Regions from separate parts of the Homo sapiens genome. Here region 1 is linked to region 2. Evidence: promoter capture Hi-C in human tissues and cell types (Jung and others, 2019). All regions are on one chromosome and are shown on one strand. Each heading gives the region's core, a stretch centred on a gene start or on the middle of the fragment in contact. The rest is flanking DNA. Distances are from core to core; before and after follow the strand shown.

Region 1 (5,051 bases), core at 1,861-4,360, 380 kb after region 2:
GGGCACCATCCAGCCCGCCTGGCCGCCTTCCGACTGTAGCTGCACGAGTGAGCCAGCTGCTGGCTCATCCAGTGGACAGGTCATCTGAGTCCTGATCCACAGAAGCCTGAACAATACACCTTATGGTAAGCTTTAAGGTGGGGTGGTTTGTAGCACAGAAATGGATCTTTGAAGCAGGTGTGATTCTCCATGCAAGGCTCTGGCAATTGCCCCAACCTTTATGCAGTCTCCAGTGACGAATTTCTTTACCCATTTATTTTGAAACGTGTATTTTGGCCGCAGCACCCAGAATCTGACTCCTCCACCTTGGTCGTCATGGAAAGCTCATCTCTGGTGGCAGTGTTATCATTCTGTCAATTACTCAAGAGCCCAATACAAACAGGTATCACAGAGGATGTGACTGTCCACTCTGTGTACCTCCTAGCCCACTCCTTGGGGCTAATGAATAATTTGTGTATTACCATCCACCGTTTTCTCATTCCTTTATACTGTTTTTAATCATTCATTTTTTTTCTTTCAACAATTGTAAATGGATTCCTACCCAGGGGGCAAGGCTGGCTGCCAGCACTGCCGTCGAGGCATGGGCAGGAAGCAGTGGACTCTGACCTCAGTGCGTTTATGGGAAGTGGAGGCAGATGGTCAAGAAATGAGAATCTACACACAGGGAAGATAAATCTGGTTTGTAACAAGGGCGGTGCAGGAAATAGACATGGAGATGGGGCAGAAGGGAACTGTGTGGGCAGCTCGCTTTAAGAGGCCAGGGGAGGTGACTTGGGAACTGAATCCTGAGGGAGAGAAGGGATAGCAGTGGGAAGAGCCGAGGGAAGCTTTGTCCAGAGAGAGGGAATGGCAGGTGCCGTGGTCTGAGGCGAGAGAGGGCTGGGTGACCTGGACTAGAACAGACACCAGCCAGACAGCATAGAAAACAAGTAGAGGAGCTGGGCGCGGTGGCTCACACCTGTAATCCCAGCACTTTGGGAGGCTGAGGCGGACAGATCACCTGAGGTCGGGAGTTCGAGACCAGCCTGACCAACATGGAGAAACCCTGTCTCTACTAAAAATACAAAATTAGTTGGTCATGGTGGTGCATTCCTATAATCCCAGCTACTCGGAGGCTGAGACAGGAGAATCACTTGAACCCAGGATGTGGAGGTTGTGGTTAGCCAAGATTGTGCCATTGCACTCCAGCCTGGGCAACAACAGAGAAACTCCGTCTTAAAAAAAAAAAAAAAAAAAGTAGAGGGTGACAAAGCTGGCACGGGAGGAGGGAGTCTCATGGGTCATTGGGAAAAATGTAAATTTCTTTTTTTTTTTTTTTTTTTGAGACAGAGTCTTGCTCTGTCCCCCAGGCTGGATTGCAGTGGTGCCATCTCGGCTCACTGCAACCTCTGCCTCCCAGCTTCAAGCGAGTCTCCTGCCTTAGCCTCCTGAGTAGCTGGGATTACAGGCGCCTGCTACCATGCCCAGCTAAGTTTTGTATTTTTAATAGAGACACAGTTTCACCATGTTGGCCAGGCTGGTCTCCAACTCCCGACCTCAAGCGATCCACTCGCCTCGGCCTCCCAAAATGCTGGGATTACAGGTGTGAGCCACCGCACTCGGCCTCGATTTCATTTTAAAAGACAACAACTGGGTGTACCCTCCCGCATGTGCCCACATGCACGTGCACATGCATACATGGGTGTGTGAGCCTACATGCATGTGTACATGTGCATATCCATGTGTGGTTGGGGTAGGGGTTGTTTCATGTCACCAAACAGTGACATGACCTGGTTTTTCTTTTGAAGAGTCACTCCAGAGCTGGGCCAGGTGGCTGATGCCAGTAATCCTGGCACTATGGGAGGTCAAGGATGGAGGATTGCTTGAGACCAGGAGTTTGAAGACCAGCCTGGGCAACATAGCAAGACCCTGTCTCTACAAAAAATTCCCCAGGCATGGTGGCATGGTCCTGTTGTCCCAGCTACTCAGGAGGCTGAGATTGGAGGATTGCCTGAGCTCAGGAGTTCGAGGCTGCAGTGAGATATGATCACGCTGCAGCACTCCAGCCTGGGTGACAGAGACAGAGCTTATCTCTAAAAAAAGAAAAAAACAAAGTCACTCCAGTAGCTGCATGCAAAGGGAATGGGAGCTGAGCTGGTGAACCGGAGACTGTCAGACATCCCAGGCGACAGGTGACAGTGATGGCAGTCAGGGTACATTGGGGGTGAATTGTGGGGATGAATTCAGCCAGAGTGAGTTACTAATTAGATATGGAAGTGAGAGGAAGGGGAGGAAGCAGCGTTTTGGGGTTGAAACAGCTGGGCGAATGAAAGGGAAGGTGGGCAAAAGAAACATTCAGGATTAAGACCAAGACTTCTAATGTGGCATTGTCAAATTCAAGGCGGCGTGGCAGGGGGGCCACCGGGGCCGAGGGGAGCTGTGATCATATGGGAGAGGAGTGCAAAGCCCACAACCTGGGTGATACCTCCCAGGACCGGGGCTGACCGGGGCTGCTCTAACGTCTTTCTTTCTTTTCTTTAATTTTACATTTTAATTTAAATTATATACATGAACACGGCAATGAAGGATACCACAACAGTCCTGTGTTCTGCCAAACAAGCAACGACCATGCTTCTCTAGCCAGGTGGGCCACCTCAGGACTCTTGGGCAGGAAGCACCTACTGGGCCTTGCAGGCCTCTCCCAGCCCCGCTCTGTGCACCCTACATAACCCTAATGAGCCTGGCCTTAGGGAAATCTCAGTGCTGCCTATGGTTTTGCATAGACACCGGTGTGAATCTGGGCTCTACCACTTACCCTCTGTGTGTTCACAGGAAAAGGAAAGAATGGCTTTTCCTCGTAGCACGGTGGTGTCGGGAGCAACTCCCTATTCCCAATATTGGGTAAGATAGGGTTGGATTGGGCGCGAAAAGAGCTTAGCCCAGAGGGGAGACATGGTGCATTTGCCAGAAATGGTGGGTGCCACTCTAAAGGTGGGTGAGGAGAATCTTCTCTCCAACCGTCTTCGCCCCCTGGGCACAGTGCCATCACCTGGGATTTGCTGCCCCCCTGCACACCTGCCCCAGGAGCAGGAGGAGACTCAATAGATAGCATCAGACTAGAGACTGGGGCTGGGAACAGGGCTGGGAGCCTAGAGCAGAAGCCAGGTCCAGAGAGGGTTAAGGGGAGAGGACAGTCCCCAAGGGAACCAGAAGGAGCCCCTGGAGGGCAGGAGGCAAGTGACCATCACCAAGGAACCCGAGGAGGAGGCTCAGGAGCAGAGGCTTCGAGAGGCTGCAGGACTGGCTGTCAGCACCGTGTTAGCCATTAGCCATCATGTCCTAGTCCCTTCACGGTTCCTAGGTCAGGGTCCTCCTGCTTCTGTGACGGTCACAGCATGTGCTCCTGTGGTCCTCCTCTGGTTGCTCTTAGGACACAGGAGGCTTACATCACTTCAGAGTGACCGCAAGCTGCTGGGTCAGCAATGACCTGCCCCACCCCTTCCTGAACTCAGGTCCCCTGTGCCACCCACATCAGTGTCACAGAATAAGGAAGTTCTCTGCTGTGTCTTCCCACAAGCATTGGTTTTGATTTCCCTGCTCTGACAATAGCCCTACAGGGATGCTGTGGAGTGACAATGAGGAAAGCGAGCCTTGGCCACACTTCAGTCACTTTGGGCAGCAGGGACCAGGAAGGCAGGAGGCCAGGGGACAGGCAGGAGGACAGGTATCCACACCCTGGAGAAAGGTCTCGAATAAGACTCAGCGCCCCCAGAGAGTAGGCTCCAGAGCAGCCGACCCTACGTCCCCTACTATAGCCAGCACAGGGCATGCCTGCTGCATCCAGGGCCCTGCAGGGCGTGCAGTGCAGAGAGCAGAGTGTGTCCTGGGTCTTGATCCCAGGCCCTGGGAAGGGAAGGAGACAGACATGCTGAGCCCTTGTTTGTGTCAGTCCATCTAATTACGGCAAACTAGAGCAAGGGGTGCTTTCATCCCCATTACTCCTCTAGAGGAGATACGAGAGGCTCTGAAAGGTACCTAGACTTGCCCAGGCCCTCCCAGTGAGCAGAGTGATGCAGGGACACAAATGCCCTCAGAAGGCTCACCCTGTGCCCTTTCTCCCACCTCCAGCCCTGCAGAAATGTGTGGGAAGCTGTGCTCCTGCCCCAAGTGAGCCCCTGAGTCCCAACGGCAGGTCTGGCGCCATCCTTTCCCAGGTCCACCTACTGCACCCAGCACAGCTGCCCGAAGAATGCACTGGCCCTGTGGGCCTGGGGGCTGCCCCCTGTCCTGCTGATTCCCCTGTCTTGGCTCCTCTTAGACCCCCCATCCTTGGCCAGCTGTCTCATGCAAGAGAGTCCACATCCTGGGGACAGTCCCACCCTGGCCACCCGGACCAAGCACAGCTCCTCGCCCTCCCAGCCTGGCCGGTGCTCGCTGAGGTGGAAACCTCAGAAGAAGGTGGGAGTGATCCACCCTCCTCAGCACAGTGTCCCTGCCATCTTGGTGGGCACCACTCCTCATGGGCAGACCAGAGGAGGCCCTGTTCTCTGCCATGAGGATGCCACCTCCCATTCTGTCTCCAGACCTTGGACTTCTCTAGTCAAGAGGATATCCCCTGGGGGCTGTCAACTCCCAATTGAGTCTCGGGTGGTTCCGGTGTGAGCTCATCTTGGTGTGTTGTGTGAGTCTGACCAGAGACCACCTTTCCCAGTTCACACTCGAGGCACACACAGCATGGTGCCCTGCAGTACCCACTGCCCACCTGCACAGAGACTGCACCTGTACCAGCAGACACGAATGGGCTGTTGTCCCTGCTTGTGCCCCCCACAGGCCTGCCCTTCCAGGAGGGGGTGTCGTCCTGACCCAGCCAGCTCTACTCCCAGCCCCAAATGTTTCGTCACTCAGCCCTACAAAGTGCTTCTGAATCCACCGAGGGCATGATAAGGCTCTCCTTAGCACAGAGCTCTGAGTTAGAGTGGGGGTGGGGCACAAAGAGTCTGGGGTTCCTGCTATGCAGACCCTGTGCCCTGCAGGACCCTCGGAGGGCAGAGCCCTTGCCCTCCCCCAACTCT
Region 2 (3,442 bases), core at 17-2,516:
CAGCTGGCCTTGGGGTAGCCCCTGGGGTCCCTGACAGTCTAGCCCATTCCTAGTCTAAGCCCACAAGGAACGGGCCCCAGGCCTGCAGAGGCCAGAACCTCGAGTGGGAGTTTCTGGGATACAGCCAGCCAAACCCAGGGAGCCCCAGAAACCCCCTCTCCAGACCCCAGCAGGGCTTCTTTCCATGAGGTGCCACTCAAGGCACCTGAACCCCTCCCTCTGTGCTCACTGTCTCTGACCCATCCTCTCCCTGACCACCCGTCTGAACAAGAGCCCACTCAGCCCTCTGCACTGAGGACCCTGCCCCCCAGCTAGGCTGGAGGCCACCCTGGCCTCTTCACTGTGGGAGCAGACCTTTCTCCCAGACACCCGCCTTGGGCATCCAGGTGCATGCTGAGTGGGAGGGGTGTTACCGGTTCATGAAATGTCAGAGCCCAAGGGGGCCTCAAGAAGGCTCCGCCCACCTTGTCTATAAATTGGGAAACTGAGGCATGAGAGAGGAGATGACACTCCCCACCTCGGAATTGAAGTCCTCATTTCTCGAGAACATTTCCTGGGTGGCTCCCAGCCCAAGGTCACGCAGAGAAGGAGAGGCAGTTCCCGGGTGGAAGAGAGGTACTCAGTTCCCGACTCATCGCTCCACACGGGCCGGGCTAGGCAATACGAACCCGGTTCCCGGCCCTCTCCTCCTCCAACGTCCATCGCAGGCGCGGCATGCACCCCACCGAGATGGTCCACGCCCTGATCCACCCCCCAAAAAAGGCCACCTTAAACCCTGGCTCCGTCCCCACGGTCCCCAGTCCGCCCTGGCGGCCGCGCACAATCCGAGCCTTTCGCGGCATAGCCGCGGCCTGGAGGTCACAGCAATCGGGGCGGGAAGGGGGGCGCACGAACCGGGGGCCCCAGGAAACCAGGGCTCCGGGAGCCGGAGCGGCGTCTCCCGCGAGCACCAGGGATCCCGCCCGCCCCGGGCCCGGGAAGGAGGAGCGGCGGCAGCGGGCCCCGCAGGCAGGACAGCTCCTCGCCCGCCGCCGCGCCGCCGCCGGGGGCCCGTTGGGGTCGGGGTCGGGGTCGGTCCGGGCGCGCCGCCTTTGCTCACACCCCCACCACCCCGGCCTGGCAGAGCCGTCGGCCAGTCCGTCCTTACCCAAGACACGACGCGCAGGATGGTGTGCGGCTGCCGGACCAGGGTGTAGGGGTCGAAGGCGCCCCCGGCTTTGCCCGCTCCGTACGCACCCCCTTCCATCGTGGCTGCACCCGCGCGGTGCCCCCCGCTCGGCGCGCGCCGCCGGCCCGTGCGCGTGCGCGGCGCCCCCGCCCCCTCCCCTGCGCGCGCGGCCGGCGGCCCAGGGCTCCCGCGAGGGGGCGTCGTGCGCGGCGGGCGCAGCTCGCGGGGCGCGGGCGGGGGGCTGGGCAGCGCGCGACCTCGGGCGCGGGGGCGCGCGTGCTGCGGCCCGGGGCTCAGGGCGCGCTCGCAGCCAGTGCGGTGACCTCTTTGCAAAGTGTTTGGGGGAGGGCGGTGCGTGCACAGCAAGTGTGGGCCGTGTCCCTGCCCCGCATCCCCGGTCCCCTGCCCCGGTCGCAGCCCCTCTGAGCCGTCGGCTCTGCTGAAACCATCTTCACGCTTGATTTGTTTGGCTGTTTCCTGCCACTTTGTCGGCCCCAAATATAATGAGAGGGCAGGAGCTGTGTTCGTCCTTCTTAGAGGGTGCTTGGTACGCAGTAGGCGCCGCATGAATATTTCTCGAATGAATGAACCACGAGTGAATGACCCTCTCTTACAGCCCTCCAGAGCAGCCCCCACCTCCCAGGACCACCCTTCCCCTGCCTCTTACGATGACGTCATGTGTGTCCCTGTGCCCGCGCACCCTCCCACCCCCAGCCTGGAGGGGCCTGGCACAGAGGCGGCGGCTGAGACTTCCTCTTCCCCATCCCCTCCTACCCCAGAACGTTGCCCCTTTCCTGAATCTAGCAATTAATTACGCAATCATTTGTTCATGGCCTCTTCTGCTGCTAGTCTGTGAGCTCCCGAGGCCCAGGTGTTGTCTAACTTATTCAATGCCTTACCCAAGGGCCTAGCATACAGTAGGTGCTCAGTAAACAGAGCCTAGTCCCCATCACCCCATCACAGCTTGGGCTAGACCTCCAGGTTTCATGGAAACGGAGGCTAGATGGAGGAGTGCTCCCTGCAGGGGAAGGGCCACCTTCCAGGGCTGGCTCTCCTGCTGCCCTGTAGCTCTATGGCCTCTCTATGTCTGCAGTCACCTTCACTGGTTCCAGGAGCAGGTTGGATGAGGATATGGGTGGAGGCTTTTGCTTCTCTGGTATCCTGCCATTCTGTGATGACAGGACACAACATCTGTGTGGAGGAAATGTGTGCTGGGCCTGAGGGTGCTCCTTATAAAAATTACATAGTCAATGTCCATCTTAGGCTCAGCTGATTGTTTAGTCTCTACCAGGCCTTGTGCTAAGGGCTTTACATACATTTTCACATTTAATCCAGCACACTTATAAGGTGTCTACTATGACTATATAAAACTTTTAGAAGAAAGCACAAGAGAAGGCCGGGCGCAGTGGTTCACGCCTGTAATCCCAGCACCTTGGGAGGCCAAGGTGGATGGATCACAAGGTCAAGTGATTGAGACCATCCTGGCCAACATGGTGAACCCGGTCTCTACTAAAAATACAAAAATTAGCCGGGCGTGGTGGCGAGCTCCTGTAGTCCCAGCTACTTGGGAGGCTGAGGCAGGAGAATCACTTGAACCCAGGAGGTGGAGGTTGCAGTGAGCCGAGATCGCGCCACAGCACTCCAGCCTGGCAACAGAGCGAGACTCCGTCTCAAAAAAAAAAAAAAAAAAAAAAAATCATGAAGAACATGATTCATAAAAGAAACAATTGATAAACTGGACTTTATCAAAATTAAGAACTTCTGTTCTTTAAAAGACATTGTTAAAAGAATGTATGAAAAGACAAACGATAGTCTGGGAGAAAATATTTGCAAAGCATAGATCTAAAGAACTTGCATCCCAAATAAAGAACGTTCGAACTCAATAATAATAAGAGGACCCACTTTTTAAAAAATGGGCAAAAGATTTGAATAGTTATACACCTCACCAAAGAAGATATACACACGGCAACTCAGCACATAAAAAGATGCCCAGCATCCGCGGTGGCTCACGCCTATAATCCCAGCACTTTGGGAGGCCGAGACGGGCAGATCATGAGGTCAGGAGATTGAGACCATCCTGGCTAACACGGTGAAACCTCATCTCTAGTAAAAATACAAAAAAAAAAAAAAAAAAATTAGCCGGGTGTAGTGGCTGTAGTCCCAGCTACTCGGGAGGCTGAAGCAGGAGAATGGCGTGAACCCGGGAGGCGGAGCTTGCAGTGAGCCGAGATCGCGCCACTGCACTCCAGCCTGGGCGACAGAACGAGACTCTGT

The links. Contacts are between HindIII fragments. The study calls those that stand out against the background at their distance.
Region 1: a contact is called between a fragment that was not itself captured here and the fragment with the promoter of SYNGR1 in region 2, in 3 of the 25 tissues and cell types used here (heart right ventricle, lymphoblastoid cells and mesendoderm cells).

Annotation. Positions count from the first base shown.
Region 1 is chr22:38,966,360-38,971,410 of GRCh38, reverse strand. LOC105373033 (a long non-coding RNA gene) reads left to right here and starts at 3,558. Exons shown (of 3, transcript XR_007068099.1): 1 at 3,558-4,437. LOC124905118 (a long non-coding RNA gene) reads left to right here and starts at 2,044. Exons shown (of 3, transcript XR_007068101.1): 1 at 2,044-2,171; 2 at 2,566-2,623; 3 at 2,812-3,298. RefSeq lists an enhancer at 4,807-5,051. The HindIII fragment of the contact is 5,262 bases long and covers 480-5,051 here.
Region 2 is chr22:39,347,815-39,351,256 of GRCh38, reverse strand. It overlaps SYNGR1 (synaptogyrin 1), which reads right to left and starts at 1,266. Exons shown (of 4, transcript NM_004711.5): 1 at 1,148-1,266. The coding sequence starts at 1,246. RefSeq lists a silencer at 1,060-1,219. The HindIII fragment of the contact is 13,153 bases long and covers 1-3,442 here.